Linked DNA regions of Homo sapiens: region 1 is linked to region 2. Evidence: promoter capture Hi-C in 16 types of primary human blood cells and fetal thymus (Javierre and others, 2016). All regions are on one chromosome and are shown on one strand. The core of a region is centred on a gene start or on the middle of the fragment in contact, and the rest is flanking DNA. Distances in the headings are between cores, read along the strand shown.

Region 1 (6,311 bases), core at 2,554-5,053, 280 kb before region 2:
AGTCAAACCGTTCAGAACAAGGACTTCTTTGGAACTGCATGGCCATATGCTTGGCCTCTCCACAAACCTCCTCCCTTCACTCCTGGGCTGCCATTGCTCCAGCTCTCACTTGCTGTTGGCAACCCACAGCCTACTTGAGAAGGCCCAGGCTATACAGGCCTGGGTTGTCTTCAGGATTTTGGGTCCCTTTTCATGCTCCAAGGGTTCCTGCCTTTCTACATAAGGTTTCATCTTTAAGGGTTGTGTGTCCCTTCAGGGATCTTAACATCAATAACCCCTACCCTGTACTGGGAAAGTCTTGGAAAATCTGCTGTTCCTTCCCAAGGTCAACCTGCCTGGAGAAGAATATTTTCCTTGGTTGCCACACATCTTCAAAGTAGCAATAAAATATTGCTAAAGAGACAAATGGATGCACTCAGGGCCTCAGAGGTACAGCTGATGACCTCCCAGCCAGGCAACTCTGAGGATTCAGGGAAACTAGAGAAATGTTTTTGCCTTATTTTGTCACCATGCAGATTCTTGGGCTCAGATGGCTTTGTGGCTGAGACCCCTCTTGGCTGACCCTCTCTGCTGTTACCATCCAGCCCAGCTTGTCTGCTCTTGTCATGTCCAGAAATTAGAACCTTCTTCACCTCAAATCCTGGCCCCACTCTGATTCCTTTCTATCCATATGGTCTTCAGTATGATGGAGCCAGGGCTTCTGACATCAATTCCCTCAACTTCCTCCCACTTGCCCTCAAGAATCTCTCTGCATTTTTACTTTCTTTCTTCTTCTCTCCCAACTTGGAAATGAACGCCTTTTCCTTCTCCATTGCCCTCTGTCTCTGTCCCCATCATCACCCCAACTTTAGCATTTTTCCCCTCCACATGCTCCTTCCTCCTACTTCAGTAACACCAGTTTCTCAGGACTCAGTTTCTAGGGGTCATAGAGTTGCACAGCCTGGGGTAATTCCCCACCTCCCCAAGGGATAGTTATGTGAGCATGGACAAATTATGTAATTCAGCCTCGGTTTTCTCACCTGTAAAATAAAGATGATAAGTGGGCCTATTTCATAGGGTTGCTGTGATGATAATGGAATGGGCATTAACGTGGTATAGCTCAATACATGGTATGAGCTCGATAATTTTAACTGCAGTTATTAGTGTTACTGTAACTCTCTGCTTCTTCCCAAATTCCTTCACTAAGTCTTCTCTTTGCTGCCATCCTCTGCCTTATTTGCAGCTCGCTTGGTGTTTGCATCTAATGTTATGACCTCAACTGTCACTTCTATGCCTATTGCACTTGTGCCTCTACCTGCAGCCCTGATGCTTCCAGGTGCAATCTCACAGGCACCTCACACTACATAGACCAGGCAAAACTCATCCTCTTCTCACTCAAGTCTGCCCCTCCAGCAGCAGCCACAGTAAGCATTGATTGATTACCTGCTCCATGCCAAGAACCGTCTTAGATGTTTCATTTGCTACTTAATTCCCTGTGTGGGGGGTTCCACTTGTCTCATTGTCATCCAACTTTGGGGTCTTTGGTCATTTTTGACACTTTCCTCTCTCCTGCTTATGCCTAATGCTTGGCCTGCTGCTTCTATATCATCAGGGCCTCTGCATCTGCCACCTGTCTCTGTTCCCAAGCCCAGGGCCCCAGGTCTGTGGCTATAGCCTTCAAATCAATCTACCCACTTCTACAATTCCCACCACTCTTCTGCCCCTTCCAGAGGCCAGTTTTCTCTTCTCCAACACCACTCTGATTGCATCATTCTGGTGTCCAAAGTGCTTCACTGCCTGCTGAATATAATCTAAGCCTATCCTCAGCGAAGAAATCCAAGCGCTTCCCAACTTACTCCACATCTTCCAAAACCCCCACCATCCCTGCATTGCTTGTCTGTGCTAACCAAAGGCTCCCTTGTCCCACCATGTGCCTACATTTTCCTGCCACTAAATCTTCCCCTATGTTGTTCCCACAGTATTAAAACACTTCGCCATCCCATGTCCCCATCTCTAAATGCTACGTAGAACTAAAAAACCCGATCAACAGCCTCTTCCTTTCTGGAGGCTTCCTGATCCACCAAGCCAGAGTCAGGGGTTCCAAAGACTTTCCTGAGGCCTTTCTCATTGAAGCACACATCTGGCTCCCCACTAGACTGTGGACACCCTGAAGGCTGTGGCTTCCAGCGCTTCTTTACCCACTGTGTCTGCCTCAAAGCAGGGGCTCAGGAAATGCTTGTGAATGAACAGTTCACAGTGAATTCAAACAGGTGTAAACACTCATCTCCTTGCCTCCAGTTGGGCCTGGTGCAATGATTAGGATAGTCAGCACAGAGTTAATGTTCAGTCCTTCCCTGATCCTCCCAACTCCAACCTCCTGTTATGTGGAGGGCTTTGTGATCTGCACATTAATTAGTCTTTCAATGGAAAAACAGATCTAAACACTCCCAGATGGGGGAGGAGTGAGTGTCATTAGCCATGAACTTCTAGGAAGGACATGGCTCAGGCAGCAAAGGGACTACTGGTCTGCAGGGTCACAGCCCTGACTTCTAGCTCAGGCTCAACAGGCCACCTAGTTAGGCTTATGCCCAACAGGCCACCTAGTTAGGCTCATGCCCAACAGGCCACCTAGTTAGGCTCATGCCCATGCAAAGGGCAGTGATTTTAAAAGGAAGGGTTTTTTCACAGGTGCCTTACTGTCACAGGCACATACAACTGAACACAGGCCAATGTCTCCTTGCTTGCCAAGTGGCAGAGGCCCCAGGAGAATACCTCTGTTAATTTGGAAGCATTTACATGGGGGCATAACTACTGGTTATTGTGCAATGGTAGTCAGTGTCAAATGGAAATTCCCTTTAAATGTAAGCAACTGCTTATATGATTTGGTAAAACTCTTCTGGATAACAATTTCACAATATGTACCAAGAATGTTAAAAATGGCCACACCCCTTATCCCACTCATGAATCAAAGAGCCCACACATTTAGGGAAATAACCCTAAATAAAGAGAACTCTTTATGAATATATTCGCTGATCATACCACTATTTTTAAAAGAGGAAAAACTGTAAACAACCTAAATATTCACCATTAGGAAGATTGTTAAATAATACATTTACTGATAATTAACATTTATTTCACATTTTCTATATGCCAGACATTGTGCTGAGGTCTTCATGTATAATACATTTCATTGCATCCCAGCTATAAAGTAGCTACTATAGTTATGCCTGCTTTGCAGATGAGTTAACTGAGGCTTGGTGACATTAGGTGAGCTGTCTAACCTTTTTTGGGTTCAGTGGAAGTAGAATTATAAGCAGGTAGTCTAATTCTGGAAGCTTAATTTTTACCATACTACATAGACTCTTTCAGTGTGTGTGTGTGTGTGTGTGTGTGTGTGCGTGTGTATTTGATGGACTAGTGCACATCCATTTTAAATATTGCCCATCTACTTAAAAAAATTTTATATGCTATTTTAATAACATGGTTAGTGTTTCTATTATAATGCTGAGTTAAAAACAGGACATGAAATTGTCCATATAGCATGATCACAGCTTCTTAAAATCTTTAATCTATGTATACAGAATGGAAAAATAAACACATTAATGTGTTACCAGTGGTTGTAATTGCATGAATGGGCACTTTCTACCTCTACTTTCAATGTTCTGTAGCTTGTAGATTTTTAACCATGGATCACCACTAAGAGACAATCAGGAGGGGCTGGCTGAATATACACTGGCTATATATTTGCCAGTCCCCCAACCACCTGAGCTGGGCTCTCACCTCAATGTGGCCCCCAGTCCACCTGTCATATGTACCAGAGCGAAGAAGCCAGAGGCCTCTTGGCACCTGGCTTCCGTATGTGAGTGCTGTCTCTCATATCACATAGGATCGCCCTGGAAGTGGACTGGCAATCCTGAGGCAGAACCACAAAACCCAATCAGTCTCAAAAGCCCTGCCCAAGGCTGCCTAGAAATGCCCACATGAGCACAGTCAACACATGGATTGGGACTGACCCAGGGCGCAGACCACAGGACTGCAGCCAGCCCCAGCCCCATTCTATGCAATTCACACAGCCTTGGGCTCTATGGTGTTCTGTTTGGTTTTCACTGAATTACATGATCATTCCAACCAAAATATCTCATGAAAAAAATCTACCTTTTTGCCTTCTCTTAAAAATCGGAGGATCCAAGCACATCAGGCCACAGGGCAACAGTCCGATAAAGTGGGGTTGTGACCACTCCCTTGGACAGGATGTGGGCCCAGCTTGCCACAGTCCCCACCACTCCCAGCTGCCTCTCAGACACTGAAGCTTACACATCAGGCTTGAACTACTGCTTTTCTAATAGCAGAATGAGGCAGAAGATAAAATATGTTCTGTGTCCAGGTTTCAATCGAAAGAGGAAAAATGAAACATAGATTAGGAGAGCTGTGGTCTCAAGAAAAATGGGAGAGGATTCACTTCCCCAGACACCTCTTCTCACTTATGAAACTACCTTTGCAAAAATTAGATCAGTGAGAAAATTATGGCAGTGGGGGCAACCTAATCTAGCCAATCCCCCTTTTGACTTTATCCTTCAAGCTGCCTTGATTATTTCTTGGCTTAGGCTGAGCTAACTTTGCCAGACATTTAGTTTATACTTTAAATGATAATCGCCCTTCCCTAAAAGTAATGAGAGGTCAACAGGCTAGAGGGAGGAGAGGAGCCTGAATTCTGCTAAGGTATGGAGGAGAGGAGCCTGAATTCTGCTAAGGTATAGACATAAAGGATTGCCAGCCATTATTTAGGAGGTCACAAGATATGCAAACTTCCCCAATTACTCCTGCCGATAACATCACTGCAGGAGTAATCAGTATTGTGAAACCTAAGATTTGCCCTTTGAGGTATCTTTTCAGGCTTTTTGCATGTCTGACACCAGTGGCACCAACTCACCAGCCCTGCTCCTGGACCCACAAACCCTGCTCCTGTGGCCTCACCCAGAAGCAACAATGTGCATAGGAGGACAATTTTCCACACCTCTATGATTGCATGCCAACCAATCAGCAGCAAGCACCCATTGCCTAGCCATCTCCATCCCTTCCCACAAACTGCCTTTGAAAAAGCCCTAACTTATAAGCCTCCTATGAGATTGATTTGAGGAATAACTCTGTCTCCCACGTGGTGTGGCTGGCCTTGTGTCAAATAAACTCTGTATTTACTGCAATGCCAGGGGAGGCGATATGATTTGGCTGTGTCTCTACCCAAATCTCATCTTGAATTGTAGCTCCCATAATCCCCATGTGTCATGGGAGGGATCTGGTAGGAGGTAATTGAATCATGGGGGTGGGGTCTTTCCCATGCTGTTCTCATGATAGTGAGTAAGTCTCATGAGATCTGATGGTTTTATAAATGAGAGTTCTCTGGCACACACTCTCTTGCCTGCTGCCATGTAAGACGTGACTTTGCTCCTCCTTCACCTTCTGCCATGCTTGTGAGGCCTCCCCAGCCATGTGGAACTGTGAGTCAATTAAACCTCTTTTCTTTATGAATTACCCAGTCTCAGGCATGTCTTTATTAGTGGCAAGAGATTGGACTAATATAGGAGGTTACATGTATGTTAGCTCCCTGTCGTGATGAGTCTCTGAGTTTTCTATCTCTAGCCTAGAGGGTTCCTGAGGAGCAATTGAAAGAAAACCACATTCCTTCTCATTTTCTGGAGGGATTCCTGGCAGAAAACACTGCCTGGTGACTTTTTGTCAGCCTCCCCTCCCTTCTCCAGTAGTTGATCCTGTCTAGCACCTGCTGCCACCAAATTCCTTCCCCCAAGCAACTGAGGGCAAGGGAGATCAGAGGGGGCAGCCCGATCCCACAGAATTCACACCCAACCCTTGGAACCCACAAGCTGTGCCCATTACTTGGACAACGTCATTTTGGGGACATGCTCCCAGCTCACTTCTCCCTAAAGTTTGAAGCTATTTGTGTGCATGACAATTTTGCGCAAAGGCCCAGGTGGCCCAATGTTATCAACGTTGTCATAACCTCAGCTTCTACAAATCCTGGGGCAAAAGCAGAGAAAGCATCAGTGCCTCTGAATCAGACCTCCTCCACCTCCCACTAAGGGAGGGACCTGGGGGTATGAAACCTCTTTGTTCCTCAGTCTCCCCATAGTAAATCCCCAGGAATTGGGTTGTTGTGAAGATTAAACATATGCCAAGCTCCTAGCATTGTGTTTGGCACACAATTAGGGTTCAGTAAACACTGGCCACTCAGCCACTACTGCCAAGACCATTCTTATTCAGTCCAGATCACAGAAACTTGTGGGGGCACGGCAGAGGTGGGTCCTCCAATCTTGGCT
Region 2 (6,604 bases), core at 1,206-3,705:
TTTGGAAAGCAATTGGCAATTTCTATGAAAAGTCTTAAAATGGGCATGTGCCATGGCCCCATGATTCTATTTCTGAGGGCTGATCCAATGTATTAAAACCTACCCCAAAATGGAGCTACAAGAATATTTGTCAAACAGCATTGGTTGTAAGAGGGTAAGGTTGAAAACAATCCAAATGTCCAGCAAGGAGTAGTCAAATTAATTCTGGTACATCTGTATGACGGAATACTCTGCAGCTAAAATCATGATAACCGCAATGGTCAGCACATATCAAACACTTACTCTGTGTTGGGGACCACATTAAAAGCATTACATGCACTATCTCATTTAATTCTGCCTATGCTGTACATATTATTATCATCTCCATCTCACAGATGAGGAAACCAATACCAAATAGAGTTAAGGTATTTGCCCAAAGTCACACAGCTAGTCCCTAGGATGCATACTCAGGCAATTTGACTCCAGACACCAGCCTCTTAGCCATTATACTACCCGGCCTCAGATGAAACCATTAAGGGAGCTATTGTTGTAGCAAGGCTAGCCACATGGAGCGATGTTCACAATATGCTAATAGGTATAGCAAGCAGGTTATTAAAGACTACATGCAGCCTGATCCCATGTGTACATGTGCACACAAAGCAAAAAGAGGATGCTTTGGGAAGATTTCACCCAAGATTTTACTTGCGTGAAAATGTTAGTTTTCTTCTGCTTGGGTTTTCTGATTTTTCTGGGCAAACGTGTTGTTTCTATATTTTAAAAAATTATTTTTAGAGTTAAAAACTAACATAAATGCCAAAAGTCACTCCCTCATACTCATCTCATGCATAAATGCAAATGTCCAGCTATTGGCTTTGCTTTAGGTATAGGCACAACAGCACGCATAGGCGCTGCTTGCTTTTCATGGCTCAGCTTCTTCTTGAAGCAGCAAGGGCTCTCCAGTTGGGAAGAGACGACACAGATTCTTCCCATTGCACCCTTCAGCAGACTGTCCCCATCATCCAGAAGCCCTCTGGGCATTTTTGCCTCCAGGGAACTGCCAGGCTGATGGCATAGAGCTGGGTGAGCTCTCTCCTGACAGCCAAGCCCAGGGACTCCAAGAGCTTGAGATGATCCACCTCCTGTCTCTGGGTCTCTCAAGGCAGCAAGAAGTGAAGGGCAGACAGGCCTCAAAGCAACAGAGTGGTCCAGGGACAGGAGTCCCAGTTCTGCAGCCGTATATACTGAGGACCCTCCTGGCCTAGTCACCTGCTTCCTAGCTCTGTGACCTTGGACAAGTTATTTCTTCTCTCAGAGCATGTTTCCACACCTGTCAAATAAAGAAATTAAAAGTACCAACTTGGAAGAAAAGTACCAATTGGTAAGAATCAAAGTAATAGATAAATTAGACATAAAACGATGGTGCCAATAAGTAACATTTCCTGGGTACTGACAACATGTATGATTTCTATAGTTCTCACAGCCACCCTATCAGAAACACTGTGATGATCTGCACTTTACAGATGATGAAACAAAAGCTGAGAGCGGTAAAGTCACTTGTGCTGGAAAGTAGTGAGGAGGGAATTTCTGCCACTATGGCTGGGCTCACACCACTATACCTCGCATTCTGGCACAATGTCTAGAACATGGGAAGGCCTTCATCCAGATGGTTACCACTGTCATCGCTCTCCACTAGGGCTCTCTACCTGGCTTTGGAGAGTAGTGTGAGAGTGAGGACTCCTCCTGGTTCTCCCCACCACCCAGACACTCACACAGCCACCAGGCCACTGACCCACTTTAAGGAGCTTTCCTTTGGGAGTCACCAAAACTCCTCCCCAATACCCGTCCCCACCCCCGCATACACACACATACCCTCTTTGAGTCAGTTCCAGTGATCACAGTCAATGACTTTGCTGCTGGACAGTCTATGACAAGCCCCTGTCCAGAACTGGCCTTGTGTTCTGGCCCAGCAGGGGCCCTTGGGGGTCAGGCCTGCAGGCACTCACACTTGGCACCTGCTCCAAAACCCTTTCAGGTCTTTGAGGATCTGAGCCCTGGGCCTGGGTCTCCCGCCGGCTCGGAAAAGCTGGCCTGCCGGGCCAGAGAGAGAACCACACGATTCAGAAAAGCAGTGCCCTTCAGCAGCCTCTCCACCGTCTGGGCTCCCCAAAGGCAGAGCGGGACGCTGGAAATGTGTGCGCGCTGTGGTATGGGTGTGCAAGTGTGCGAAGGCGGCGTGTTGTGTGAGCGAGAGGGTAGCGGATGTGTGTGTGCGTGTGCGCGCGTGGCTCCGGGTGTGCGCCGCTGCGATAGCGGGTCCTTTCCCGGGGCGGGCGACGGGCGGGCTGGGAAGGTCTCCTCCCCTCACCACATTGAGAAATCTCAGTGAGTCACCGAGTGGTTCTGCATATTAATGAGCTCGCTCGCTGCGAGGGCAGGAGCGGATTTAAAAGAGGCCAGGGCGGGCGGAGGGAGGCTGTGGAGAGAGCGCGGAGACAAGCGCAGAGCGCAGCGCACGGCCACAGACAGCCCTGGGCATCCACCGACGGCGCAGCCGGAGCCAGCAGAGCCGGAAGGCGCGCCCCGGGCAGAGAAAGCCGAGCAGAGCTGGGTGGCGTCTCCGGGCCGCCGCTCCGACGGGCCAGCGCCCTCCCCATGTCCCTGCTCCCACGCCGCGCCCCTCCGGTCAGCATGAGGCTCCTGGCGGCCGCGCTGCTCCTGCTGCTGCTGGCGCTGTACACCGCGCGTGTGGACGGTGAGTGCGGGGAGCTCCCCTTGTCGCCGTCTCGTCTTGTCCTGTCCTGGGGAACCCAAGCGCCAATTTCTAGGCATCCTGGGATCCCGCGGGGGGTGGTCTGGGTGGGCACCAAGGTGGTCGAGGGGCAGGAGACCGCCTAGCAACTAAGCCGTTGCCCCGCGCTCGCTCGCAGGGTCCAAATGCAAGTGCTCCCGGAAGGGACCCAAGATCCGCTACAGCGACGTGAAGAAGCTGGAAATGAAGCCAAAGTACCCGCACTGCGAGGAGAAGATGGTTATGTGAGTTCTCGCTCCTCACCTTGAGGGGGTGCGCACTGCTGTCAACCCAATGCCAGGGCACAGCCTGGGCCTGGGTCGGGCTAACAAACATTTCTCTCCGACTTTGTCAAGGCCCTGGAAAAGCCTTTGTAATTGCCCAGAGAGTCCTTAGGACGCTGGCGAGACACTCTGGAAGACAGTCGGGAAGGGGGGTCACTGTCCCGCTCCGGAACAGCGCCTCCAAGTTCACCCTTGCTAGGATTCAAATGAGCAGTCTCCCTATTTGTACCATGGGCCACCCACTCTGCTAGGGCCATCAAGGGTTAAAGGGTTCCCTTGTGCCAACTCAGAAAACCTAGACTGAAATCACTTAAAACACACTCACACCCAAACTGTGAGGCGTGCTGCCTTCCTGTCACTGGATAGAGGACTAATGCAAACACTATCTTAAATCCTGAGTCTCCTTCAGAGCCTTGTTCCAGTCAGAGACAAGTGGACCGCAAGTTTTTGGCTCCTAGAGATTTTATTTTGAGAACGCTCCACGAGCTTCCCTCACCGACTGTACTCCTTGTGGGTCCCCAATACGGAGCAGTACTGCAGAAAGTGCTCTGCTGGGGTTAATGTGCCACATGGCTGGAGCCCTGCTTGGTGGGGATGTGGGGAATGTTGGAAAAACTGGGGCAGAGTGAGAGAACACTTAGTTTCTTGCTCCTCCGCCTTCCCAATTAACCACTTGAGGCCAGCACCGCTGCCTCCTCATCAATATGCTCTTGGCCAGGAAGGGAGCCCTTGGCAAAGCGGCTACCAAATATTTGCCACAGACCATTGGCCCCTCTTCCCCTCCCCCAGAAACAGGACGCACTTTATTCTCAGTCTGGGCAAGTGCCCTCCACCAGCTGGCCCCCACCGGCGCAAAGGCCTTCACAGTGTCTGCGAAAGCAGTGCACACCCCTACCCAGCACCCCCCATCCCCGTCTAGGGGCTACACTGTCAGGCTGAAATTAGGGGAATTCAGAAATCCACTGGAACTGAGCTGACCCCACTGCCTTCCTTCACAGACACCTAAATTAACTTGCTTGTCCCTACCCCTTGCCTTGCAGACCAAATTCAAAGAAAATACCCAAAAATCCTTTTGGGTGGGGGCCAAGTGTCAAATGAGCTGGGAAAGGAGCTCCAAGCTCCTCAGGGCTTCCAGTTTGGGGGCTAAGAATGACAGGGGAATTCCAAGTTAAATCTCACTCGTCTAAGAGCTGAAAACCACTCTATTAACCAAACAAGTTTCTGAGACCTTGCAGGGGAAGAAAGCAGGGTAAAGGATGCAGTGATACCTAAAAAGGACAGAGCCCTCAGTAAATAGGCTTGCTCTTTTCCTGGCTAAACTTTTCCACATATAGAGAAAAACTATAGCTAGGCAAGTGTGAGAAAGGCTTTACGGAGCCTTGTAGAAACGTGCAGGGGCCTCAGGAGATCAGCACACAATCCAATCACCCTCTACTAAACCTCTAACCCACCCCCTAGGGCCTCCCACTCCATCCCTGAGGGCTGGGGGCTCCTCTCCCCCTCCACAATCCTAAAACTCTCCAAATCAGATGAGGGGCCAGCACTTTTGCAAAGCAGGTTTTCAGCCACAAAGGCTGAACAAAAGCAAATTTTCCAGCTTACCCTGAGTCACCCAGAAATCTCTGCTGAGGCTGGGGGTGGGGGCAGGAGTAGGGGCGGGGGGAGAGGTCCGCTTTGCAAGTGGGAGTCCTTGCACCCAGAAGGATCCAGGAGAGTCCGAATTCTAGAAAGAGCAATTTGTGTCATAGGTCCATGGAGCTCTCACCAAAACCCTTACCCCCACCGCCAGAACTGTGGAGGAGAGGGTCACAGGACTCAGAATTTCTGATAGTTGCTGGAGTCACAAATCCCTATGTCTGCACTCCACAACCGATTTTCATAATCCCAGTATTATGACGTGGCATTTGAGCACTGTAGTGAGAGGGCTGAGTGACCCTTCCTGCTCTCCCTTCCTGCTCTCCCTGACCTTCAGGATTTGGGATGCACAGCCTGCACACTGACCTAACTGAGAAAGGGTTTTTATCAGGCATTACCACGTCCTTTCCTTCAGAATGCTAAAGCAGCCTTGTAGGCAGAAAGAGAAAAGCATTTGCTAAATTCCTGCAGGGTGACTGGGCACAGTGGGGGAGAGAGACAACCAGAGTTCACTCTGAAGCCTGGCCTGTGCTCAAGGCTAGAGGAATGACCCGGAGTCACAGAGGAGTCCAGTCAAGGCAGGCACCATCACCTGGCATCAGCAGGAAGACCCGCCCCTGCCCCAAGGAGCTTAGGCCCTAGCAGGGACCCCAGAAACCCAGAGCACGGAGAAGGGAAGAGAACAGGTTGCCTAGGAACATTATGCCCCCATTCTGGTGGCAAGATCCGATTTTCTTTCCCCATCAACTGGGAGACTGAAGTAATGGGAATCCTGTCCCTTCTAGAACTTAGCCCATATAAGCCATGACATTTTCCATTTGGTTAACAGTGGGGAACTAGCTGACCTCTGTCCCTCTCTTCTCACTCTTTCCACTCTCACTTCCAGTCTCCCCCTTTGCCCTCCAAGCCCATTCCAGCACCCCAGTCTACCATCATGGCTTGCATGGCTGTGACCCCTCAAGAAGTGGCATCCTCACCTCTCACCTTGCACTTTTCCAAATACCCTAGGTGGTCTCTTATTCCCCACAACTCCTGTCATGCCTGTGGCCTAGAGGTGCTCAGAAGTTCTGAGCAGCAGGCTTGCCTCGCCCTCCAGGCTGGAGCCCCCACAGCAAGGCTACTCTTTCCCCTTGGCCACTTCATCTTCCATGACCAATGACTAGTAACAGTAACTGTTAATTGTGCATCTACCAGGTCCTGGGTACTTTCTAAAGATTGTATCTTTTAATCATCCCAATAACCCTGTGAGATAGTCCTATTATTATACCCATTTTACAGATGGCCAAACTGGATTCAGAGAGGTTACCCAAGGTCCCACAGCCAAATTTGAGATTCAGTCCCAGGCCCTTACAGTCTGCACAACACCTGCTTCTCTACCACATGGCTAGGCTTCTGCTGGGTGTTGGGACATTGGCTGATAGAGGCCTGAGATCTTCAGGCTGTGCAGAAGAGAGGTCTTACTCTTCTGCTTAGGGGTGAGATACCTGGGACCTCCCACAAGGCCAACAAGACTTTGCCTCAGGATCAGGAGATGCCCAGCCCTGGGACAATCTGTGGTGGGTCAGAGGGAACTGGGGTTGAGGAGACAGAAATCAGAGTGTCTGCGGGGCATGTCTGAGCCTTGCCATGAGCTCCTCAAATCCAAGGACAGAGGTTTTGGCATGTGCACCTTGCTGGCATTAGCTTTCTCCACCTCCTGATCCCAGGCTCAGAGAGGCTGGGAGTCCTCTGACCTTTGTTCCCCAAAAGAGGCCTGAGCCCTGGAGACAACACACTGCATGAGGTTGGGGGTGGGAGAGACCATCCCAGACTCTCAGGACTCCCAGGGGAAAAGTGAGGGCTGCTCACTACATACAGGGTTAGGCCCTAACATGGAGTCAGAGAATAAGGGGACAACCAGAACCTTCCAAAGAGCCAG

The links. Contacts are between HindIII fragments. The CHiCAGO score rates a contact against its expected background, and 5 or more counts as called.
Region 1: a contact is called between a fragment that was not itself captured here and the fragment with the promoter of CXCL14 in region 2, in 1 of 17 cell types (M0 macrophages). The highest score is 5.6, in M0 macrophages.

What each region holds. Positions count from the first base shown.
Region 1 is chr5:135,858,379-135,864,689 of GRCh38, reverse strand. The region is part of intron 4 of SLC25A48 (solute carrier family 25 member 48); the gene reads right to left. Among named protein-coding and RNA genes, the nearest start is that of SLC25A48, 27 kb to the right of the region's middle. The HindIII fragment of the contact is 974 bases long and covers 3,317-4,290 here.
Region 2 is chr5:135,574,842-135,581,445 of GRCh38, reverse strand. It overlaps CXCL14 (C-X-C motif chemokine ligand 14), which reads left to right and starts at 2,455. Exons shown (of 4, transcript NM_004887.5): 1 at 2,455-2,731; 2 at 2,907-3,012. The coding sequence starts at 2,668. It also overlaps a transcript of SLC25A48 not described here. The HindIII fragment of the contact is 10,061 bases long and covers 1-6,604 here.